Linked DNA regions of Homo sapiens: regions 2, 3 and 4 are each linked to region 1. The links are contacts of gene promoters, found by promoter capture Hi-C in blood cells and fetal thymus (Javierre and others, 2016). All regions are on one chromosome and are shown on one strand. Each heading gives the region's core, a stretch centred on a gene start or on the middle of the fragment in contact. The rest is flanking DNA. Distances are from core to core; before and after follow the strand shown.

Region 1 (6,039 bases), core at 2,376-4,875:
TGCTGGGATTACAGGCGTGAGCCACTGGACCTGGTCAGCATTTCCTTCCTTTTTTTTTTTTGAGACAGAGTATCACTCTGTCACCAGGCTGGAGTGCAGCGGTGCGATCTCGACTCATTGCACCTTCCACCTCCCAGGTTCAAGCGATTCTCCTGCCTCAGCCTCCCAAGTAGCTGGGACTACAGGCACGTGCCACCAGGCCCAGCTAATTTTTGTATTTTTAGTAGAGACGGGGTTTCACCATGTTGGCCGGGATGGTCTCAATCTCTTGACCTCGTGATCCGCCCGCCTTGGCCTCCCAAAGTGCCAGGATTACAGGCGTGAGCCACCGCACCTGGCCTCCTTCCTTTTTAAGGCTGAATAATCTTCTGTCCTATGGGCCAGACATGGTAGACACGGTGACTCATACCTGTAATGCCAGCATTTTGGGAGGCTGAGGCAAGAGGATCATTTGAGCCCAGGAGTTGGAGACCAGCCTAGGCAATACAATGAGACCCCTGTCTCTAGGAAAAAAAAAATAATTAGCTGGGTGTAGTGGCATGTGCCTGTAGTCCCAGCTACTTGGGAGGCTAAAGTTGGAGGATTGCTTGAGCCCAGGAGGTTGAGTGAGCCATGATTGCGTCTCTGCACTCCAGCCTGGCAGAGAGATCCTGTCTCATAAAAAAAAAAAGGAAAAAGAAAAAAAAATTGTGTCCGGGCATGGTGGCTCAAAAAAAAAAAAATTGCGTTGTACAGATGAACCAAAAAAAAACAATTGTGTTGTAGAGATGAACCACGTTTTATTAATTCTTCTATCTAAGGACACTTGTGCTGTTTCCACCCTTTCGCTATAATGGGTGCTATGAACATAGACTTGCAAATATCTGCTCTATGACTTGCTTTCTTTCTCTTTCTTTCTTTCTTTTTTTTTTCTTTTTTTTTTTTGAGACGGAGTTTCCCTTTTGTTGCCCAGGCTGGAGTGCAATGGCGTGATCTCAGCTCACCGCAACCTCCGCCTCCCATGTTCAAGCGATTCTCCTGCCTCAGCCTCCCTAGTAGCTGGGATTACAGGCATGCGCCACCACGCCTGGCTAATTTTGTATTTTTAGTAGAGACGGGGTTTGTCCATGTTGGTCAGGCTGGTCTCGAACTCCCGACCTCAGGTGATCCGCCCGCCCCGGCCTCCCAAAGTGCTGGGATTACAGGCATGAGCCACTGCGCCCGGCCCAACAACCTGCTTTCAATTCTTTTGGGGCTATACCCAGAAGTGGAATTGCTGATATGGTAATACTATTTTTAATTTTTTGAGGAACTGCCATACTGTTTCCCGCAGCAGCTGCACCATTTTACATTCTCAGCAAGGGTACACAGCATTCCAATTTCTCTACATCTTGGTCAACACTTGTTATTTTCCAGGTTGCTTGGCTGGTTGGTTGGTTTTGGACAGTAGCCATCCTAATGGCTGGGAAGCGGTTCTCGCTTTGCTTTTTTGGAAGGGAGGTGGGCGGGTGGCATTTTTCCACAGGAGCCTTTAGATCTATCAGGCTCGAGTTGCACAATCTTGCCTGGCTTATCTCTGGGACACCTCCTGGCAGCTAATAAGAAAGGGCTATCTTTAGCCACTATGGCTTAGAAAGGTTAGGAACCTGCCAAGGTCACAGGTAAGCTGCAGCATCAGAAAGTGAACCTGAAGTCTTTTCCCCTCTTGATTTCACTCTGCCTAATTGTTATTCACTGCCTTTAGGCACAAAGAAGTGAGGTCTATGCCAACATTACACAGCTGGTTCAAGAAGCCATGCTCTCAGGCACCAAAGGGTGACACACACCTGTAGTCCCGGCTACTTGGAAGGTTGAAATGAAAGGATCACCTGAGCCACTGCACTTCAGCCTGGGGGACAGAACAAGACCCCATCTCAAAAAAAAAAAAAAAAAAGAAGGAAGAAAAGAAGGCCGGGCACAGTGGCTTACGCCTGTAATCCCAGCACTTTGGGAGGCCGAGGCAGGTGGATCACCTGAGGTCGGGAGTTCAAGACCAGCCTGACCAACATGGAGAAACCCCGTCTCTACTAAAAATACAAAATTAGCTGGGCATGGTGACGCATGCCTGTAATCCCAGCTACTCGGGAGGCTGAGGCAGGAGAATCACTTGAACCTGGGAGGTGGTGGTTGCAGTGAGCTGAGATCGCGCCATTGCACTCCAGCCTGGGCAACAACAGCGAAACTCTGTCTCAAGAAAAAAAAAAAAGAAAAGAAAAGAAAAGAAAAAAAAATCATAGGAAAGCAATGAGATGTTCTTTAGGTGGTAGCACACATAAAAATGTTGCCACGCCAGGCGCGGTGGCTCACGCCTATAATCCCAGCACTTTGGGAGCCTGAGGCAGGCAGATCACGAGGTCAGGAGTTCAAGACCAACCTGGCCAACATAATGAAACCCCGTTTCTACTAAAAATACAAAAAATCAGCTGGGTGCGGTGGCGGGCACCTGTAATCCCAGCTACTCGGGAGGCTGATGCAGGAGAATGCCTTGAACCCAGGAAGCAGGCTGGAATGCCTTGCACTCCAGCCTGGGCAACAGAGTGAGACTCTGTCTTAAAAAAAAAGAGAGAGAAAGAAAAAAAGATGCCATCTTAACATCTTGTTTCTTGCAGAAATACCAGTGTCTAGCATGGAACCAGCACCTTAGAGTCAGCACTGATCTTTTCTTTGTTTTGTTTTGTTTTGAGACAGGCTAGTCTCAAACTCCAGGGCTCAAGCGATCCTCCTGTCTTAGCCTTCCAAAGAGCTCAGACTTACAGGCGTGAGCCACTGCACCCAGCTACATGCTAGGATTCTATGTATGTTTCATTAAACAACTATATAGCACCTACTGAATAGGAGACACTATCACGCCAGGCTGGGCTCGGTGGCTCACGCCTGTAATCCCAGCACTTTGGGAGGCGGAGGCAGGAGGATTGCTGGAGGCCAGGAGGTCGAAGTTGCAATGAGCTATGATTGTGGCACTGCACTTCAGCCTGGGTGACAGAGCAATACCTTGTCTCTAAAAAAAAAGTAATAAGAAGAATTCTCACGCCAACGCTGACACAGGCACTAGTATGACCCTCATTTTACTAAGGAGGAAAGTACCGCACAGAGAGGTGAAGTCTGTCCAGGGTAACACAGCTAGTAAGTGGCAACGCTGGGATTCGAACCCAGTAAATCTGGCTGCAGACGCCATTTTGCTATGCAGCCTCTCATAGAATCTACTTATTCTCTATGCTTATTGTGTATCCCACGCACACACTGTAGGATGTAAGTTCCAGGAGAAGCTGCTCGCTGCTTTGCCGTTAGAACCCCACCCTGCACAGAGCAAGCGCTCGACCTATGGAGAAATAAACAGCCGCTTTCTCTCCCGCGCAGGCGCATCGGGAAGGATAACGGAGCCTCCCCCTTCCTGCGCCGATTGGTCATCACCGATGACTGACGGAGGAGTGGTCGCAGGCGCACCAGGCCAGACCAAAGGCGGCTTAGCCCAGTCTAAGATCCTGTTCCCCATGCCTATTGGCCATTGCTTATGACTGACGTATCAAAAAATCCAATGGAAAGCAACCTCTTCTGGAAGAGGGCGGGCCCCGCGGACAGTCAAATTTGCGCGGGTTGGAGCCTGGCGTAGTCATGGCCGCCTTCCGCGACATAGAGGAGGTGAGCCAGGGGCTGCTCAGCCTGCTGGGCGCCAACCGCGCGGAGGCGCAGCAGCGACGGCTGCTGGGGCGCCACGAGCAGGTGGTGGAGCGGCTGCTGGAAACGCAAGACGGTGCCGAGAAGCAGCTGCGAGGTGAGGGTCGGAGCGTGGTCGCGGGCCCACGGGGGAAGGGGCCCGGGTGCTGGGAGGGGGCGACCAGGCCCACCTCAAAACCCCTTCTCTCCTGGACTCTCCCATCTCCTGCCCTATGCCCCCTGGGACGGCCCCCTCTGAGCCTTAGTTTCACCATCTGAGAAATCGGCTTTATGACAGCAACCATCCCCCACCCCCCAGGGGTTTAGTGGTAAATATAGGAGTCTGGAGGGGTTGGCCCCTTCTGAGCTCTCCGTGAGCAGGAGCTGGGGGTCTCAGGGTTTGAACTGGGGCTCAGGAGTCAAAGCTCCGGGTTTGAATCCTAGCACCCATCCCCATGTCCGCTGTGAGACTTGAGGTGAGTTTCTTAAATTCTCTGTGCCTCAGCTTCCTTCCTTGTCAAATGGTTGTGACAATAGCCCATCCCTTCTTCCTGAAGGCATTCAGATGTTTTATGGAGCATCTGCTGCTGCCAGGCCCTGGGCTCACCGCAACCTCCACCTCCCGGGTTCAAGCTATTCTCCTGCCTCAGCCTCCTGAGTAGCTGGGATTACAGGCGCTTGCCACCGCACTCGGCTAATTTTTGTATTTTTGGTAGAGACGGGGGGTCACCACGTTGGCCAGGCTGGTCTCAAACTCCTGACCTCAGGTAATCTGCCTGCCTCAGCCTCCCAAAGTACTGGGACTGCAGACGTGAGCCACTGTGTCCGGCCCATCTTCACTATCTGTAACTGCACAGTTCAGTGGCCTTAAGCACATTCACACTGCTGTGCAACCATCAGCACCATCATCCATCTCCAGAACTTTCTCATCTTTCCAAACTGAAGCTCTGTCCCCATGAAACACTCACTCCCCATCCCCTTCTCAGACCCTGGCACCCACCAGGGTTCTACTTTCTGTCTCAAATTTGACTCCTCTAGGAACCTTACGAGGAATTGTACAATATCTACCCTTCCTAGTGGAATCATACAATATCTACCCTTTTGTGTCTGGCTTATTTCATGGAGCATAATGTCCTCCAGGTTCATCCATGTCATAGCCTGTATCAGAATTTCCTTTCATTTTGTGTACTTACTGTGAGACAGAGCCTCGCTCCATTACCCTGGCTTGAATGCAGTGGTGTGATCTTGGCTCACTGCAACCTCTGCCTCCCAGACTTAAGTGATCCTCCCACCTCAGCCTCCCAAGTAGCTGAGAACACACTTATGCGCCACCATGCCCAGCTAATGTTTGTATTTTTAGTAGAGATGGGGTTTCACCATGTTGGCTAGGCTGGTCTTAAACTCCCAGCCTCAAGTGATCGCCCACCTCGGCCTCCCAAAGTGCTGGGATGACAGGGGTGAGCCACTACGCCTGGCCAGAATTTCCGTCCATTTTAAAGCTGAGTCATATTTCATGATATAGAAGGATGGACCGCATTGTGTTTATTCATTCATCCATCCATGGGCACTTGGGTTGTATCCACCTTTTGGCTGTGTTGAATAACGCTGCTATGAACACGGGTGCCCAAATATCTCTTCAAGACTGTATTTTTTTTTTCCTTGAGACGGAGTCTTGCTCTGTCACCCAGGCTGGAGTGCAGTGGCGCAATCTTGGCTCACTGCAAGCTGCGTCTCCTGGGTTCACGCCATTCTCCTGCCTCAGCCTCCCGAGTAGCTGGGACTACAGGTGCCCGCCACCACGCCCGGCTAATATTTTTATATATATTTTTTTAGTAGAGACGGGGTTTCACCGTGTTAGCCAGGATGGTCTCGATCTCCTGACCTCATGATCCACACGTCTCGGACTCCCAAAGTGCTGGGATTACAGGCATGAGCCACCGTGCCCAGCCATATTTTCTTCTTTTTTTTTTTTTTCCCAGGACAGTCTTACTCCGCTGCTCAGGCTGGAGTACAGCAGCGTGATCTCTGCTCACTGCGACCTATGCCTCCTGGGTTCAAGCAATTCTCCTGCCTCAGCCTGCCAAGTAGCTGGGATTACAGGCACGTGCCAACATGCCCAGCTAATTTTTGTATTCTTAGTAAAGATGGGGTTTCACCATGTTGGCCAGGCTGGTCTCAAACTCTTGACCTCGTGATCCGCCCGCCTCGGTCTCCCAAAGTGCTGGGAATATAGGCATGAGCCACTGCGCCCAGCCCAAGACTCTATTTTCTTTTTTTTATTTTTTTGATATGGAGTCTCGCTCTGTCACCCAGGCTGGAGTGCAGTGGCGTGATCTTGGCTCACTGCGAGCTCCGTCTCCCGGGTTC
Region 2 (6,039 bases), core at 2,124-4,623, 380 kb before region 1:
AAGACTCCATCTCAAAAAAAAGAAGAAGAAGAAGAAGGTCGGGCGAGGTGGCTCATGCCTGTAATCCCAGCAATTTGGGAGGCCGAGGCAGGTGGATCACTTGAGGTCAGGAGTTTGAGACCAGCCCGGTCAACATGGTGAAACACTGTCTCTACTAAAAAAAAAAAAAAAAAATACAAAAATTAGCCAGGCGTGGTGGCATGTGCCTGCAATCCCAGCACTTTGGGAGGCCAAGGCAGGTGGATCACTTGAAGTCAGGAGTTCAAGACCAGCCTAGTCAACATGGTGAAACTCCATCTCTACTGAAAAAAAAAAAAAAAAAACAAAAATTAACCGGGCATGGTGGCACGTGCCTGTAATCCCAGCACTTTGGGAGGCTGAGGTAGGTGGATCAATTGAGGTCAGGAGTTCGTAACCATCCTGGCCAACATGGTGAAACCCCATCTCTACTTTAAAAAAATACAAAAATTAGCCAGGCATGGTGGTGCGTGCCTGTAATCCCAGCTATTGGGGAGGCTGAGGCAGGAGAATCACTTAAACCCTGGAGGCGGAGGTTGCAGTGAGCCGAGATTGTGTCTCTGCACTGCAGCCTGGGCAACAGAACAAGACTGTATCTCAAAAAAACAAAAAGAAAACAGAAAGAAAACCAGGGCCTCCTTTAATTATTGCTGCACATCTCTCCTCACATCACCAAGCCAGCCATGAACAGCTGTTGGCTGCTGCCTTTTAGCTGTGACCGCTCTTTCTGGGGACTCTGGCGGCCACAGATGGGCCTACCCTATATAGCATGGTGGTTAAGATTCTAGAGTCATTTCCCTTGAAACCACGTGGGACTTGGTGCAATGCATTTCACCTGAGCCTCAGTTTTCTGTGCCTGTTAAATGGGCACAATGATTACTGGCCACCCCAAAGGTATCCAATAGAAAGTGTTCAACTCAGTTCCAGGATCATGGTTGTTTTGGGGGTTGAGGGGCTGCATGGAGTTGGGGGATGTTGCAGGGTCTCGGCTTCGAGAGCCTCACTCACTCGCAAAGAATGATGCCATCTTTGAGGCCGTCCATGAAGTTGTTGCCGATGCGACGGCCTGTCACCCCCTCGATCCACTCTCTCAGCTCCTGCTCCCGCTGGTGGTCATACTTCTGGGCCAGCTGGGGCGAGGGGAGGGCAGGGGGCACAGAGAAAGGGGTGAGGATGCATTGGGGGCAGCCTGGGCTCCCTGGGTCCTGTCTGAACTTCCTAGAGCCTGATCTCCCTCGTCCTTCCCAACTAAGGCAATTTTGCCCCAGATCCATAGTTGGGGGATGGGGGCTGGGGCGGGCTGAGAGCCAGGGCTGAGGTGGCACCTGCCCAGGGGGCCATTCCGGGCATTCTGAGGTTTGGCACCAGGGAATGTAGATGAGGGGTGGGGTGTGGGGAGCTGGATCCTCTGAGCTAGAGGGGTGGCACCCGGCACCCTGGTTTTTCGCCCAGGCCAAACTTGGGGCTTCTCTTCCTCTAGCCCTGCCCCCTCTGTGCCCCCTGTTGGAAGAGAGGGCACCTCAGGAAGGGAAGAAGGATGTCTAAGGAGGTGTCCCTGGGTGCTGGCTTGCAGAGGAGTGCTGGTCATACATCTCTGTCTCTCCGTGTCCCCCAGGTCTTCAGCTCCAGGGCTCTGTCTCTGGTTAGTGGTGGGGGCTTGTCTCTGTCTTAGCCCCCACCCCTTGCACGTCTGTATGTCTCTCTCCCTCTTATCCCCCCGACTCCTCTGTCTCTCTCTTCCCCAGCGCTGTCTTTTCTTGGCCCAGTCTTGGGTCCCCATCTCTCTAGGTGGCTAGTCCCTGTCTGGCCAGGGGTAGGGCTCCTGGGTCTTGTATATCTGCCTCTCTAGGTCTTTCTCTGTCTCCAGGTTTCCTGCCTGGGGTGGGGGTGGTGGGGCTCTGTCTCCTCTCCCTGCCCCTCCATCCTTGTCTAGGTCTTATCTCGCTCCTGGCTCGCCCTCCCCCGTCTGTCCCTAGGGTGTCTCAGGCTCCCAGTATCTCTGTCTGCCTCTCCCCCCACCTCCCTGCTTTTCCCTCTCTCCACTGTCCCCCCCCTCCCCCACTCCACTCCCATTTCTCCAGAACCCTCCGCCCAAGCCCAGCCAGGCTCCCAGCCCCTAGGGGACCGGGCTGCCTCTTCTTCTCCCGGGTGAGTGGGGGGAGGTGGGAGGGGCGGCCCCCTCACCTGGCCCTGGCCCTGCCGCCCCCCACGCCACCAGCCCGGCTTTATAAAGCAAACCGGCCCTTATATAGCGTGGCCCGGGCTCCCCGAGGCCGCCTTATAAGGCGCGGCGTCTCTGCGCGGCTCTGCGCGGCTCTGGGGCCGGCGCTGGGGGGGAGGAGGGCGGCGCTGGGATCTGTCTCTCGCCCGAGGACCCGCCCCCCACCAGCCCCCTCCTCCAGCCCCGAGATCCCTCGACCCAGGTTCCAACCCAGTCCCCCACTTCCTCACCATGGGACCCTGGGAAAAGCCACCCTGAGCCTCAGTGTTCCCCTCTGTCAAATGGGGCAGGAACTCCTCCCTCGGCAATACTGTTGGGGCGATTCCAGTGGGCTGGAAACTTAAAGTTCTCCAGCTGGGAGAAGCTGAGCCCATCCTGGTGTATGGGGGGTGAGTCCAGGGTCCGAGCGCTGTACCTGCTTTACCTGGGACCCCAGCTATTTGCCTCTCCTCTCCGAACCTCAGTTTACCCAACCATAGCATGAAGGTGGTGTCCAGGTATCTTCCTAGCTCCACAGTCAGGAGACCCCTGCCGCACTTCTGATGCCCGCTTCCTGCCTTTCACCGTCCCCCTCTGTCTTCAGGATCTCCCACACTTTCACGGCGTCACTTCCCAGGTACCCCAGCACTCAAGCGCTCCCCAATTTCTTTGTCAGGCCGGGGGATATGGAAAAATCAACAAGTCTTCCCCCTATGTTGTTCCCCCCAAGAACACGAAGGGTTAACAGAAGACTGATCAGGTGGGTATCTTTGCAATGGACTGACCCCCTCTGTTTATGTGTGGCTGTGTGCCCCCCCATTCCAGCCCCAACCATAGCTGGGGGCTCCGGGATGTTCAGGGGGAGACAGGCAGCCCCTATCCCATATCACTCCCTTTTCCCCTCTCAGTTTCCAAGTCACATAGGATAGGCAGGAGGGGGTTCAAGGGACCCCAAGCTCAGGGCTCTGGCCTGGCAGGACGTGTGGGCCAGGCCAGGGAGGCCCTCCAGCCCTACCTTGTTCTTAACCTCGGCTGACAGCCCGTAGGCAGGGCCTCGGTTGAAGTGAGCAGAGGACATGCTGGCCGGTGGGCTCTGGCGGGGGCAGTGGCGGCACTGACGCTGAGAACAGAGGCAGCGGCTGAAGTTCCGTCTGCACACTCTTCCCTCCTCACATGTTTTTGAAGCTCCGGAGGCGACCCGGGTCTCTTCCAGGGCCGTTCCATTGGCTGTAGGGGCCTGCCAAGGGGCGGGGCACCTCCCCCCACAACCTCAGCTGCCTTCCCCTCCCCTTGTGATGTCAGGCCCTTGGTATTGGGAGCTGATTGTGTCATTGTTTCCACCTAGGGGGGCAGCCTGCGTTATTCTGGGGGGGCTTGGTCAGACAGAGACCAGCCTTCTTCCACCCACCCCTCCCACTGTCCATTGGGCCTCTGGCTGGGTCTGAGTCTCTTTGTCTCTGAGGTCATCTCTCTTTATCTCTCTGGAGTCTTGAAGCAGGACTGACACCCAAGGTAGTTTAGTGAGCACCATCCCGGGTTTATCTCCAGATACCAACAGTCTATAGCCTTAGGTAAGCCCCTTCTCCTCTCTGGGCCTCTATGGCCACATCTGTAAAATGGGCTAACGATAGTGCCTGCCTCATGGGAGAGTTGTAAAGATCAGAAGAATATGCCTGTTACATGCCCAGCACAGTGCCCGGCACAGCAGAGGGACTCGGGCCATAGCAGTCTTTTTAAGGCAAGGTTTCACTCTGTCCCCTCGGCTGGAGTGCAGTGGCACAATCACAGCTCACTGCAGCCTTGACCTCCCAGGCTCAAGTGATCCTCCCATCTCAGCCCATCCAAGTAGTTAGAATTGCAGACTTGTGCCACCAACCTGGCTAATTTTATTTTATTTTTTTAGAGATGGGGTCTCGCTATGTTGCCCGGGGTCTCGCTATGTTGCCCAGGCTGGTCTCAAATTTCTGGGCTCAAGCAATCTGCCCGCCTTGGCCTCCCAAAACGCTGGGATTTACAGGCATGAGTCACCATGCCCAGCCTATAGCATTCTTTATGCTGAGGGTCCAGCACCCCAGTTCTGTCTCCTCCAGCCCCTCATAAGGACCTGGGGGAGAAGAGATCCTGGGTCTCACCCTCCCCATCCACTTGTGTGTCACCTGAACTACAGGGTGACTTTGTTGGCAAGTCCCAGGCCGTGAACTGTGTCCCTGTCAAACAGCCCTACCCAGCCAGATCTCACCCCTGGACCACAGGGGTGGATGCTATGCCCACATCATGCCCCACATGGCAAGGCCATGTTTGTGACACTTGGATGACATGTCTGCAACCTGCCACACACTAATGATATGTTGAGGATATGCAGTTTATCGGTCACATGCTAATGGCATGGCTGCAATATGCCACAGACTACAGCCCTTATGTCAGGCCATGTTCCAACTCTGTACATATATCCATTCAATTCTCATGACGCCCTCAGAGATGGACACTGTTATTATTATTATTATTATTATTATTATTATTATTTGGAGACAGAGTCTCTATTCCCCAGGCTGGAGTGCAGTGATGCTATCTCGGCTCACTGCAACCTCCACCTCCTGGGTTCAAGCGATTCTCCTGCCTCAGCCTCCCAAGTAGCTGGGATGACAGGTGTCTGCCACCACGACTGGCTATTTTTTGTATTTTTAGTAGAGACGGGGTTTTGCCATGTTAGCCAGGCTGGTCTCGAACTCCTGACCTCAGTTGATCTGCCCACCTCGGCCTTGCAAAGTGCTGGGATTACAGGCGTGAGCCACCGTGCCCAGCTGACACTGTTATTATTAATACAAGTACTTTGCTTTACAGGTGGGGAAACTGAGGCACGGGGGCTTGGAATCACTTTTTCAGCGTCACACAGCAGGCCAGGGGCAGAGGAGAATTTGAGACCATGCTCCATGAACCTCAACTATGAGGCTAAGGTGGGGTTTCTCAACCTCCACACTGTTGACAGCTGAGGCTGGATAATTCTTCATGGTTGGGGGGCTGCCTTGGGCATTCATTGTAAGACTTCAAGCAGCATGCCTGGCCTCTACCTGCTACATGCCAGTAGCACTCTCTTAGTCCTAATAAACAGAAATGTTGAGGCACTGCGGCAGGACCCTGTAGTCCCAGCTACTAAGGAGGCTGAGGTGGGAGGATCCCTTGAGCCCAGGAGTTTGAGAACCATCTGGCCAAGATAGCAAGACCATGGTCTCTAAAAAAGAAAAATTAAAAGAAGAAATGTCTACACACATTGCCAATGTCCCATGATTGGGGTCGGGGTGGAAGCAGATCACCCCTGTTTGCCAACCACTGAGCTAAGGCAATGTGCTAGTTGATGGCATGTCATGATATGTTGAACATACACGAAAATACATAAAATACGAGGCCAAGGCGGGAGGATCGCTTGAGCCCTGGAGTTCGAGACCCGAGACCAGCTTAGGCAACATAGCGAGACCCCGTCTCTATTTAAAAAAAAAAAAAAGAAAAAATAGAAAGTACATAAAATGAGCTAACAATTAGCACCTGCTACGTACTAAGAGCTTTGAGCCTGTTAACTCATTCCTCACGACAGCCTTATGAGGTGGGTCTATACGAGGCACAGAGAGGTGACGCCGAATGGCCGGGTCACACAGCTCGAGGGTGGCAGGGGCGGGATTCGAACGCGCAGATTCCTGGATCCCTCCCAAACTGAGCGGCCCTCGGGGGCCGCAGTTCGCTACTGCGCATGTGAGGACCTGCAGCCGGCGCCCCCTGGCGGCCCGGGAGGGGCGGGGGCGGGACCTGGCGAGGTCCAGGCGGCGGTG
Region 3 (6,039 bases), core at 1,167-3,666, 290 kb before region 1:
TCACCCAAGGCTGGTGGGAGAGCCCCCGAGTTTGGGTTTCTGCGAGACAAGCTTGAAGGGGCAGAGGCGGTAGACGTATCTGTGGAGGACCGGGACATATGGGTTGGGGAACGCAGGGATTCCAGCCTCCTCCCACAGCCACCCCCCACCGCCTCCTCCAGTCCCCACACACAGGGTACCTCCAACTCCAATGACCAACCCTAAACCTGGCCCCTGGCTTCTGCTCCCCCTCAATATGGAAGGCAGCACTCTCGGGCCCCACCCGCAGATGGTTCCCCAACCATCAGGAAACTGCCGGTGCCACTTCCGGGGCCACCCGCCTCCCACCCTGCCAGTGGGGGCCCCTGCATTCCTGGGACGCACTCGTTGGTGGTGAGCTCGTAGCACTGGCTGTACAGGTAAGCAAACTCCCCGTTGGGGCCAAAGTCAAAAGAAATCTCTTGCTCCAGGTTCCTGGAAGGGGAGGCGGAGCGGTTAAGGGGCAGCTGGGGACGCCAGTGCCTGACCCAGGACGACAGACACAGGAGGGTCTGGCTGAGCAATGGTGCCCAGGCTGTCCTCCCTGCCACCTCCCAGGGACCCTCCCTGCAGGGACCAGGCCCAGCCTGTGGTTGCCTCAGTGATTCCCCATCACCAGCTCCCCTGGGAGTCAAGGAGCAGTCGCTGTGGGACAGGTGTCCCCGCTCCTCAGCCCCCGCTACCTGATGGACTCCTCCATGTCCTTCAGCGACCGCTCGGCCTCCTCGAACTTGTTGCGGGCCTCCTGGGCAGCTGGGAGAGGGGTTGGAGGTCAGAGATGTCCTCAACCCCATCCAGGAGGATGGGGAACGGGGTTCCATGGATGTGGCTGTGTGCTCCCATACCCTCATTTTGCTCTGGCCAAGGACTTCACCCCGACAGCCTTGAGGGCCTCACCAGCTATAGAGCAGCCCCGACTTGCTGCCCAGGCTCCCAGCTCCTGAGCGAGTGGGGCCAGGAGTGACACAAACAAGCTGCGGCCCTTGGGGAGGCAGAAGGGCCCCTTGGGGCTGGCGAGGGTGGGACTGGCTTACCCTAGGCCCCCTTCCTGGACTCCCCAAGATACTGGGGCTTGTGCTGGCCGAGTCAGAGCAGGGTCTAAGCTCAGGATCTTCCCTCGACCTGTGCCACCACGGCAGGAAACGCTGGGCCCACCCGAGGAGCCTGGCCCCCGCCCACCCTCACCATCGATGAAGGCCTGCGTCTGCTCGTCGTAGGGCGGCATTTTGTCTTCCTCAGCAGGGCTGGCCGGCTGCGGGGGTGACAGTGGCGGTGGGGCCTCCTGGGGCAGGGGCAGGGTCAGTGAGTAGCCCTTCCCCCACCCTCTCTGTCTCCACTTCTCCCCCAAACACGGACCTTGGGCTGCTCCCCCTGCACCTCGGAATCCTCCTCCTCCTCCTCTTCTTCAGCCTCTTCTTCCTCCTCCTCCTCCTCCTCCTCCTCCTCCTCTGTGGGCGACGAGGGCACTGGCGGCTGCTCCTCCTTGGGCTCCGTCAAGTCAGGGGCAGAAGGTGCTGGAAGGTCGGTGGGCAGTGCCTGGCGGGTGAGCAGTGCGGTCGGTGTTGTGGACTCAGGGTCCACCCACACCCTCAGGCTCACACCACAGCCCAAGGGGCAGCCTCGGTGTCTCTGCCCCTCCTGCGGGGCCTGCAGGGAGGACCGACAGCTGGGGTCGGGGGGTCTCGGTGGGGGGTGCTGGGGCCACCCAGCTGGCCAGGGTGGCCAGGTGCCAGAACCAGAGGCAGCTCCTTTGTGAGGCGGGGTGGGGGCAGTGTGGTGGGAGGACCAAGTCCCCTCCCTTCTCCTCCACTGACCTCGGACCGGTACTTGTCCCTGATGGCGGCCCAGACGCGGTCGTAGAAAGAGGTGGCGTCTGTCTGTGTGTCCCCACTGAGGAGGGCCTGTGTGTGTTGGGGGTGGTGTCAAGATCTAGGCCACCACGTGTCCCCCATCTCGGCCACCCCGGCACCCGGGCTGCGGTGCCAGGCACGGGAGGGCTGGGCCCCGGGCCCTGATGACCAGGCCAGGGCCACGCCAGTGAGGCACTGCGGCCAGGAGGGGGCAGCACAGGCCCGTGGGAGGGGAGGAGGAGACCAGGGGCTGGAGTGGTTGGGGGCACTGAGACAGAAAGAGAGAAGCAGATGGACAAACGGACGTACAGATGGAGGAAGAGAGAGCCCAGGACCAGAGAGGGCCAGGCCCTCCAAGGGAGAGGCCAAGGCCCAGGCTGCAGATGGAGAGGGAGAAACCCAGGGGTGGGCAGAGAAGGGAGGCCAGAAGCCAGGGGCCACGGGGAAGGAGGAGGATAGGAAAGGAGACAGACAGGGGACGAGGGTGTGGGGGAGGAGGGGAATAGGGCAGGACAGGGGTGGGGGAGGAAGGGGATTGGGTGCTCAACAGCGGGTAGAGTGGGGGCAGGTGCGGGGAAACGGGCTCCAGCGCGACCTGGCTCCATCCCGGGTCCTGCCAGGCGGGAAGCGGCCCTGAGTGGCTGCCATCCCAGCTCACCCAGAGGAGGCATCCCAGGCCAGCAAGGAGCTTTCCTTGGTCCCCCTCCTGTGCCCTGAGGTCACCCTGGGGCAATGCTCCCTAGAAGTCCCCAACCAAGGGGCAGCCGGGGGTACCTGAGCTTCCGCTTCTGACAACGCCCCATCCCCATCTGTGTCCAGCTCCGGGTGAGTCTGCAGCTCAGTCACCGAGACCCTGCGGGGGCGTGGCAGAAGCAGACTGGAGGGGTGAGGCCCCAGTGGCTCTCAGTTGGGGGCACCATGTGGCCCACCTGTTCTTCCCTGCAGGGCCCCACCCTGGAACTTGCTTCAGGACCTCAAGGTGTAGGGGCCTCCCCACCCTCCTGCCCCCTCCTCAGGACTCCATGACCCCAAAGGAGCTCAAAGTAAGGGGTGGGACTGGGAGATACCTGGACCCCCAAATGTCCGATGACCTCTCTACCAACTCACCCAGGTGGCACCTCCTTCCACCCCAGGACCCGGCACATTGAAGCTGCCATCTGCCTTGGTCCCCCACCCAGCAAAGCCCACCCCCACCCTTGCCCATTCGGTCCCTCTGAAGCCCCCTGCTCCTTGGCACCTGACATCTCCTAGGCTCCCCGTGTGCCTCTCAGCCCCCAAAAGTCCACCCTCCACCAGGTAACCCAGCAAGCTCAGAGGCACAGCCAGGATTCGAACCCAGGTCTGGCTTTCCCCAGAGCGTAGTGGGGCTGGGAAAAGCCATCCGATCACTAGATGCCTAGACACACTCCCTGAGGCTGAGGGTCTGTGCCCAGCTCCTGGGGAGAGGGTGGTCCCCCTATCTCCTCGCCCAGGGCATCCTGGACCTGGCCATCCACGAGTAAGAGGCGGGGTCACACGGGGCTTGGGATCAGCCTGGACCCCACGCCGGGGGAACCCAAGGAGGATCTGGCTGGTTTCTAGAGGCGAGGGTGGCGGGGAGGGAAACCCAGGCCCACGGAAAGGTGGGCAGCTCCAACTAGGGGACACTCACGTCCCGTCCATGTCATCATCCAGCTCCTTGAAGGCATCAGCCGCCAGCTCCTGCTCCTGTTGGGCCTTGGCAGCAGCCAGCTGCTCTGTAAAGAAGCCACCTCTGTCACCCCCTGCCCACCCACCGGCTCCCATCAGCCCCCGCACCCCACAGGGTCGTTTGCCACCAAGCGCCTACTATATGCCTGGCCCCATGCTGGACCCTGAGGACACGACTGTGGAGGAGACAAAGGTCCCTGCCCTTACCAGGGGAGAACAGACGAAGAGCAAGGTGAATGGTTGAAGCCTGGTTGTGTTGGGGGAGACCGGGACAAGGTGGGGAGTGCAGAGGCAGGAGGGCCACTGGTGGGGCTGGAGCAGGGAGGTGGGAACCCAGGTGGCAGAGGGCAGCCCTGTCAGGCCACTGTTGGGACAGAGGTGGGGGCGAGGGCAGAAGCCAGGTGATAACAAGGGCTGGCCCAGGCTGGGGACTGAGGAAGAAGCACGGAGCAGAGGCAGATTCTGGGGAGACGCAGATGGAGTGCGCAGACGGTCAGAGGTGGGAGGTGGGGTTGGGGAGAGGAGAGCGACCACTGAGACTTTAGGTTTAGGACCTGGCAGAGGCATGTCGGGGCAGGGCTGGCAGGAATGAGACTTCATGGCCAAGGATGCTGGGAGATGGGGAGGATACAGGGAGGGAGACCGGTCCTGGGGGCATCTTGGGGGTCCCCAGGGCTGCTCCCAGGAAGAGGGGCCAGCCGGACAGAAGGGGACCGAGCCTCTGTCCCAAAAGTCCCTCCTTTGTCTGTCGCTACTCTAACCTAAGCAGAGCGGAAAGCAGCCACAACAGCGGCTCCAATGATTAACTTCCTACTGTATACCAGGATTCAGTTCCCACTGTATACCAAGCTCCAGCTTGGTCCTCTACAAACAGAATAAAAACAGCTGGTATTTCCTCTAGAGAGTCTTAGGTCACCCCAGGACATCCCGCATGTCCCAGGAGACCCGGCTGACACTGTTCTGAGTCTCACAGATGAGGGCCTGAGGGGTCCCTGACCTTTCTGTGGGTGAAGGGACCTGCCCATAATCACCTAGCCAGTGAGAGGTGTAGCCTGGGGCCCAATCCAGGCCATCTACCCTCGGAGCCCTGGCTCAGCCCCGCCACCCTTTGGGAATCTGGGTCAAAACATGGCGCTTCCCTCTGATTCCACAGCTCCACACTGAGAACACATCCTGAGGAAAATCAGGCCTGAGCTTGCCCAGACCCAAGTGAAAGGAAGCTTGCAACACGACAAAGATTCAGGGGCAGACAGAGCCAGACAGTGAATTCCCTTTCTACATGCAATGTGGCCTTACCAAAAAACACCAGGCTCTAGCACCAAAAACAAATGAAGAAGGGAAATAATATCTTCAGTTGCAGACAGAGCTGGGCACCGTGGCTCATGCCTGTAATCCCAACACGTTGGGAGGCCAAAGCAGGCCACCTGAGGTCAGGAGTTCAAGACCAGCCTGGCCAACACGGTGAAACCCCGTCTCTACTAAAACTACAAAAATTAGCCGGCTGTGGTGGCAGGTGCCTGTAATCCCAGCTACTCAGGAAGCCTAGGCAGGAGAATCACTTGAACCCAGGAGGTAGAGGTTGCAGTGAGCAGAGATCGGGCCATTGGCACTTCAGCCTAGGCGACAGAGTGAGACTCCATCTCAAAAATAAATAAACTAAAAAAAAATCTTCAGTTGCAGACAAAGGGCCAAACCCCAGATAGAAAAAGCTCTTTATTATTTTTTTTAGATGAAGTATTGCTTTGTCACCCAGGCTGGAGTGCAGTGGCGAGATCTCAGCTCACTGCAACCTCTGTCTCCCGGGTTCCAGCGATTCTCCTGCCTCAGCCTCCCAAGTAGCTGGGACCACAGGCAGATGCCACCATGCCAGGCTAATTTTTTTTTTTTTTTTGAGACGGAGTCTCACTCTGTTGCCAGGCTGGAATATAGGGGCGCAATCTCAGCTCACTGAAAACCTCCAACTTCCTGGTTCAAGCAATTCTCCTGCCTTAGCCTCCCGAGTAGCTGGGATTACAGGCACACACCACCATGTCCAGCTGATTTTTGTATTTTTAGTAGAGATGGGTTTCACCATGTTGGCTAAGATGGTCTCAATCTCCTGACCTCGTGATCTGCCTGCCTCAGCCTCCCAAAGTGCTGGGATTACAGGCATGAGCCACTGTGCCCGGCCATAATTTTTTCTTTTAGTAGAGATGGCGTTTCACCATGTTGGCCAGGGTGGTCTCGAACTCCTGACCTCAGGTGATCTGCCCGTCTCGGCCTCCCAAACTGCTGGGATTACAGGCGTGAGCCACCATGCCCAGCCACAAAAAAGCTCTTACAATTAGTGAAGACAAATACCAAACACCTGATAGGAAAAATGGTCACTGGATTAACTAAGTCCTGCTAAAGTCATATAACAAAATCTACATTGATGTTAAAAGGAAGTAGGCGGCCGGGCGAGGTGGCTCATGCCTGTAATCCCAGCACTCTGGGGGGCCAA
Region 4 (6,039 bases), core at 212-2,711, 260 kb before region 1:
GCAGGCCCCACGGGGCCCCTTCAGGGGCTGAACGCGGCCCGGACCGGGAACGGAGGCGGCCAGCGGCGCCCGGAGGGGAGGAAGGGGCCGGGCCAGACGTTCCCACAGTAAATCTCCCCAGCTGGGTCCGCCCCGGCCTCAGAGTTGCGCAATAAATGTTACCGACCATGCCCCTGGGTATTCATCTGTTTTTGACCCTGCACCACCCAAGAGACGGCTGTCCCTGAAAACCCAGGGCCACAGACTGCCTCCTCCAACCTGGGTCATGATGACTCCCATCAGCTAGTGACGCAGATGGAGCTTAAAAATGGGAGATGGCCCGATGTAGTGGTTTTATGCCTGTAATCCCAGTATTTTGGGAGGCTGAGTTGGGAGGATCACTTGAGTCCAGGAGCTCCAGGCTGCAGTGAGCTATGATCGTGCTACTGCACTCCAGCCTGGGCCACAGAGCCAGACCCTGTCTCAATAAATAAAATAAGGGCGGGGTGCAGTGGCTCATTCATACCTATATTCCCAGCACTTTGGGAGGCTGAGCTGGGTGTGTCGCTTGAGCCCAGGGGTTCCAGACTAGCCTGGGCAACATGGTGAAAACCAGTTTTTACCAAAAAAAAAAAAAAAAAAAAAAAAAAAAAAAAAAAAGCTGAGCATGGTGGCATATGCCTGTAGTCCCAGCTACTTGGGAGACTGAGGCAGGAGAATGGATTGAACCCAGGAGGCGGAGATTGCAGTGAGCCAAGATCAAGCCACTGCACTGCAGCCTTGGCAACAGGAGTGAGACCCTGTCTCTAAAAAATAATAAGGCTGGGCGCCGTGGTTCATGCCTGTAATCCCAGCATTTTGGGAGGCTGAGGTGGGCGAATCTCTTGAGGCCAGGAGTTTGAGACCAGCCTGGCAAGTATGGCAAAACCCCGCCTCTACAAAAAATACAAAAATTAGCTGAGCATGGTGGCGGCACCTGTAATCCTAGCTACTTGGGAGGCTGAGGCACAAGAATCCTTTGAATCTGGGAGGCGGAGGTTGCAGTGAGTTAAGATCAAGCCACTGTACTCCAGCATGGGTGACAGAACGAGACTCCATCTCAAAATAATAGCAATAATAATAAAAAGTGGAAGATGCCCCCACACTTGATCAAGCTAGCCCCTTCCACTGGAGGACAGAGGACTCTGGTCTGGGGACACACACATGCCCCCACACAGGAGCTCCCCCACATCTGGGGATACAAAAAAGACCCCTTGGGGACAGATATGTCCTTTCTTCTGGGGACAGATTGATAGGCACCCAGCGGAAGAGCCAGGACCTCTCCTGGGCTGGCGCTGGGTCCGGCTGGAGGCACCCAGAGGCTGGGTCCGGCCTGCCCTGCCCCGCCCCGCCCCAGCAGCTCGGCCGCTCCGCCCCTCTGGCCTCAGCGCCCGGCCACTGCCCGCCGCCCGCCACCCGCCACCCGCCGGCCCTTCCGCCTCACTCAGCGGCGCCACTGAGAGGGACGGGCGCCGGCCATGGAGCGCACAGCAGGCAAAGAGCTGGCCCTGGTAAGGGGACAAGGGATCCCCGGACCCCGCATCCCTGGTGACCCGCAGGTCCAGAAACTCCAAGCGCCCGCCCGTCGGACGGTATCTGCTCCCAATCTGAACTTGCCCTGGAGTCCCCTCCTGGGGACTCGCGGCCCTTGACCCAGTGAAGCGACTGGTTCCTCTTAGGGATGGGGGCGCGAGTCTCTGAGCGCAGTCGGCAGAAAGAGCTAGAGACAGGTTCTATTAGACTGGGCCCTGGGACATCCCCAAATGCCACCCCATGTCCTCAGGACCTGGGAGGAGGGGACCCGCAGCGAGGAGGGGACTAGCCTGGGACCCCAGCCCTAGTCTCGCAGCTTCTGGCCGGGAAGGGGCGTGGGGATGCAGCAGGAGGACTCGGCCCGAGTCCGAGCGGCCAAGGAGGCTGAGGCCCCAGGACCTGTGCCCCTTTGGTGCCCTGAGTCCGCCTGTGCGTCCAGGCACCGCTGCAGGACTGGGGTGAAGAGACCGAGGACGGCGCGGTGTACAGTGTCTCCCTGCGGCGGCAGCGCAGTCAGCGCAGGAGCCCGGCGGAGGGCCCCGGGGGCAGCCAGGTGAGGAGGGGGTTTGGTGGGTGGCGCGGGGCCGGAAGCGACCAGTTGAGGGCGGAGCTGGAGAGCCGAGCACAGGCCGCCAGGTGCAGTGGGCGGAAGGAAGGGAGGGGCTCGGAGGCGACCAGATGAGGCGACCAGGTAGAAAGGGGACTGGGGGCGGCCAGGTAAGTGGGGGGAGATCCAGGGAATGGGGTGGGGCCAGGCGATGGCCGCGCAGTTCCCGAGAGGAGCCTAGGGACAACTTGGTAAGGACAGAACTGGACGGCAGAGTTGGGAAAGGCAGGTTTAGAGGGCCGGGGCTGGAAGGTGGAATGGGGTTGGTTTAGAAGTGGCTAGGTGAGGGCGGATGGGGCAGCCAGTGAAGCGCGACAGGAGGGCTGAGGGAAGCCCTGGGTGGAAAAGAGTGTGTGGGGCGGGGGCGGGGGGGTGGGGGGAGGGGACGGGAGGGGGAGGGGACGGGAGAGGGAGTAGGGGACAGGGCATGGGAGAGGGAGGGTTTCCAGGGCAAGTTGCAGGAGCTATTTGTGGATGGGGAGGAACAATAACTTCAAGCGGGCAGGGAGTGGGGCACACACCTATAATCCCTGCGCTTCGAGAGACCAAGGCAGAAGGCCAGGAATTGGAGACCAGCCTGGACAACACAGCAAGATTCTCTCTAATAAAAATAAAAATTAAAAAACTAGCTGTGCGTGATGATGCCCAGCAGTGGTCCCAGCTACTCAGGAGGCTGGGGCAGAGGGACCGCTTGAGTCTAGGACTTGGAGGCTGCAGTGAGCTATGATTGTGCCACTGCACCCCAGCCTGGGCAACAAAACAAGACCTGTTTCTAAAAAAAACAAACCAAAACAATAACTCCAAGAAGCCGGGAGACAGAGGAATCACATGAAAGAATGGTGCTACAGGCGGGGCGAGGTGGCTCACGCCTGTAATCCCAGCACTTTGGGAGGCCGAGGCAAGTGGATCATCAGGTCAGGAGTTCAAGACCAACCTGGCCAAGACGGTGAAACACCGTCTCTACTAAAAATACGAAAAAACTAGCTGGGCTTGGTGGCGGGTGCCTGTAATCCCAGATACTTGGGAGGCTGAGGCAGAGAATTGCTTGAACCCAGGAGGCGGAGGTTGCAGTGAGCCAAGATCACGCCACTGAACTCCAGCCTAGGTGACAGAGTGAGATTCTGTCTCAAAAAAAAAAAAAAAAAAGTGGTGCTAGGGGCTGGGCACGGTGGTTCACGCCTGTAATCCTAGCCCTTTGGGAGACTTTGGGAGGCCAAGGGGGGCAGATTACTTGAGGTCAGGAGTTCGAGACCAGTCTGACCAACATGGTGAAACCCTATCTCTACAAAAATACAAAAATTAGCTGGGCTTGGTGGTGTGCGCCTGTAGTTTCAGCTACTTGGAGGCTGAGGAAGGAGGATTGCTTGAACCCAGGAGGCAGAAGTTGAAGTGACCCAAGATCGTGCCACTGCACTCCAGCCTGGGCAACAGAGTGAGACTCTGTCTCAAAAAAAAAAACAAAAAAAAAAAGAGTGGTGCTAGTGATGAATGTGACTAGAGAAGGGGTGCTGTGAGGACCACTCCTGCTCTCTCATGGCCACCTCTCCCCTCCTGCAGGCTCCCAGCCCCATTGCCAATACCTTCCTCCACTATCGAACCAGCAAGGTGAGGGTGCTGAGGGCAGCGCGCCTGGAGCGGCTGGTGGGAGAGTTGGTGTTTGGAGACCGTGAGCAGGACCCCAGCTTCATGCCCGCCTTCCTGGCCACCTACCGGACCTTTGTACCCACTGCCTGCCTGCTGGGCTTTCTGCTGCCACCAATGCCACCGCCCCCACCTCCCGGGTCAGTAGCGAACCATAACCTCCGTATTCTCCACCCTAGAACCCCAACTGGGCACCCCCCTCCACCTCCTCAGGTGTGGAACCTGGAAACACCTCCCAGACCCAGAGCCCTCTTCCTAAGCCCCCTCTAGGTTCCCCCTTCTTCACCTGCTGGGGGGCCTCTTCCCAGGGTAGAGATCAAGAAGACAGCGGTACAAGATCTGAGCTTCAACAAGAACCTGAGGTGGGTCCTTCATCCAGATAGGGGAGTGCGGGGAGGGAAATCCAAGAGGTCAAAGGTTAGCAGTCGGACTGGGGTTTTGAAAATTGCAGGTTGGGTAATAAGAGACTGGGAGTCAGGTGGGGCGTGGTGGCTCATGCCTGTAATCCCAACACTTTGGGAGGCCGAGGCAGGTGGATCACTGGAGGTCAGGAGTTAGAGACCATCCTGGCCAATATGGCGAAACCCTGTCTCTACTAAAAATACAACAACAACAAAAAAAGGTAGCTGGGTGTGGTGGCGCATGCCTGTAGTCCCAGCTACTCGGGAGGCTGAGGTTGCAGTGAGTCAAGATCAGGCCATTGCACTGCAGCCTTGGTGACACAGTAAGACTCTATCTCAAAAAAAAAAAAAAAAAAAAGGTACCAGGAGTCATATTCTATGTCCCCCACTCTGGACCCAGCTCTGAGACCCTGCCTCTCTGGCCAGGGCTGTGGTGTCAGTGCTGGGCTCCTGGCTGCAGGACCACCCTCAGGATTTCCGAGACCACCCTGCCCATTCGGACCTGGGCAGTGTCCGAACCTTTCTGGGCTGGGCGGCCCCAGGGAGTGCTGAGGCTCAAAAAGCAGAGAAGCTTCTGGAAGATTTTTTGGAGGAGGCTGAGCGAGAGCAGGAAGAGGAGCCGCCTCAGGTGTGGACAGGTGAGGGGTTTTCAGATCCAGTCGTGTTCTGAGAAGGCCTTTCCTGTCTGCTTCTTCCCACACAGGCTTTCTCTCCCCTCTCAGAGCTACAAAACTTAAGCAAGATTTTAAACTCTAAGCCTCAATTTCTTCATCTTTACAATGGGGATAATAATTCTTTGTCAGCCGGGCGTGGTGGCTCACGCCTGTATCCCAGCAGTTTGGGAGGCCAAGGATGGTGTATCACCTGAGGTCAGGAGTTTGAGACCAGTCTGACAAACATGGAGAAACCCCATCCCTACTAAAAATACAAAATTAGCCGGGCGTGGTGGGGCATGTCTATAATCCCAGCTATTCGGGAGGCTGAGGCAGGAGAATCGTTTGAACCCGGGAGGCGGAGGTTGCGGTGAGTCGAGATCGTGCCATTGCACTCTCGCCTGGACAACCAGAGCGAAACTCCGTCTAAAAAAAAAAACAAATTCTTTGTCTGAAGTATTAGCATGTGTCTAATACTTTTCCCTCCTTGGTGCCGTTGGGTCAGGATGCTCTGTGTTTCTAGCTACAAACCATTGCCTTGATACTTGTCTTTATTTTCTTTTTTTTGAGTCAGGGTCTTGCTCCGTTGCTCAGGCTGGAGTGCAGTGTCTCCATCATGGCTCAGTGCAGGCTCAACATCCTGGACTCAGGTGATCCTCCCGCCTGGGTCTCCAAAACTGCTGGCATTACAGGCGCGAGCCACTATACCTAGCCTGTAAAATTTTTCTTATTTTTGAATTTCTTTTTAAATTTAATTTAATTTAATTTTATTTTTTTATCTATTTTTTTTTTTAGACAGAGTCTCGCACTGTTACCCAGGCTGGAGTGCAGTGGCACAATCTTGGCTCACTGCAACCTCCACCTCCTGGGCTCAAGCCATTCTCCTGTCTCAGCCTCCTGAGTAGCTGGGACCACAGGCGCATGTCACCACGCCCGGCTAATTTTTTTGTAAAGGTGAGGTTGTGCCATGTTGCCCAGGCTGGTCTCAAACTCCTGAACTCAAGTGATCTGCCTGCCTTGGCCTCCCAAAATGCTGGGATTACAGCCATAAGCCATTGTGCATGCGTAGCCTCCTTACTTGATTATTGGCTTTTGCTCATCTCATAGGCTGTGAGTGCATGAGAGGAGGACCTGTTGTTCTTGCTCCCAGCTCTGTCCCCAGGGGCAGGAACAACACAGATTAGTT

The links. Contacts are between HindIII fragments. The CHiCAGO score rates a contact against its expected background, and 5 or more counts as called.
Region 2: a contact is called between the fragment with the promoter of CNN1 here and the fragment with the promoter of SPC24 in region 1, in 9 of 17 cell types (neutrophils, M0 macrophages, erythroblasts and 6 more). The highest score is 14.1, in neutrophils.
Region 3: a fragment that was not itself captured here is called in contact with the fragment with the promoter of SPC24 in region 1 in 8 of 17 cell types (M0 macrophages, M1 macrophages, erythroblasts and 5 more); the score reaches 8.6 in M0 macrophages.
Region 4: a contact is called between the fragment with the promoter of RGL3 here and the fragment with the promoter of SPC24 in region 1, in 6 of 17 cell types (neutrophils, M1 macrophages, erythroblasts and 3 more). The highest score is 9.5, in neutrophils.

Annotation. Positions count from the first base shown.
Region 1 is chr19:11,153,368-11,159,406 of GRCh38, reverse strand. SPC24 (SPC24 component of NDC80 kinetochore complex) reads left to right here and starts at 3,625. Exons shown (of 5, transcript NM_182513.4): 1 at 3,625-3,790. The coding sequence starts at 3,631. RefSeq lists a silencer at 3,509-3,668. The HindIII fragment of the contact is 19,008 bases long and covers 1-6,039 here.
Region 2 is chr19:11,536,185-11,542,223 of GRCh38, reverse strand. CNN1 (calponin 1) reads right to left here and starts at 3,373. Exons shown (of 7, transcript NM_001299.6): 1 at 3,234-3,373; 2 at 1,027-1,148. The coding sequence starts at 3,296. RefSeq lists enhancers at 564-683, 3,457-4,402 and silencers at 2,348-2,397, 5,826-6,039. The HindIII fragment of the contact is 23,519 bases long and covers 1-6,039 here.
Region 3 is chr19:11,442,954-11,448,992 of GRCh38, reverse strand. PRKCSH (PRKCSH beta subunit of glucosidase II) reads right to left here. Exons shown (of 18, transcript NM_001289104.2): 8 at 3,520-3,604; 9 at 2,643-2,721; 10 at 1,833-1,919; 11 at 1,375-1,554; 12 at 1,204-1,300; 13 at 702-771; 14 at 364-453; 15 at 5-79. Among named protein-coding and RNA genes, the nearest start is that of PRKCSH, 10 kb to the right of the region's middle. The HindIII fragment of the contact is 4,726 bases long and covers 54-4,779 here.
Region 4 is chr19:11,414,736-11,420,774 of GRCh38, reverse strand. RGL3 (ral guanine nucleotide dissociation stimulator like 3) reads left to right here and starts at 1,461. Exons shown (of 19, transcript NM_001035223.4): 1 at 1,461-1,529; 2 at 1,991-2,104; 3 at 3,716-3,939; 4 at 4,108-4,161; 5 at 4,627-4,838. The coding sequence starts at 1,497. ODAD3 (outer dynein arm docking complex subunit 3) reads left to right here. Exons shown (of 13, transcript NM_145045.5): 13 at 1-170. The HindIII fragment of the contact is 8,157 bases long and covers 1-4,773 here.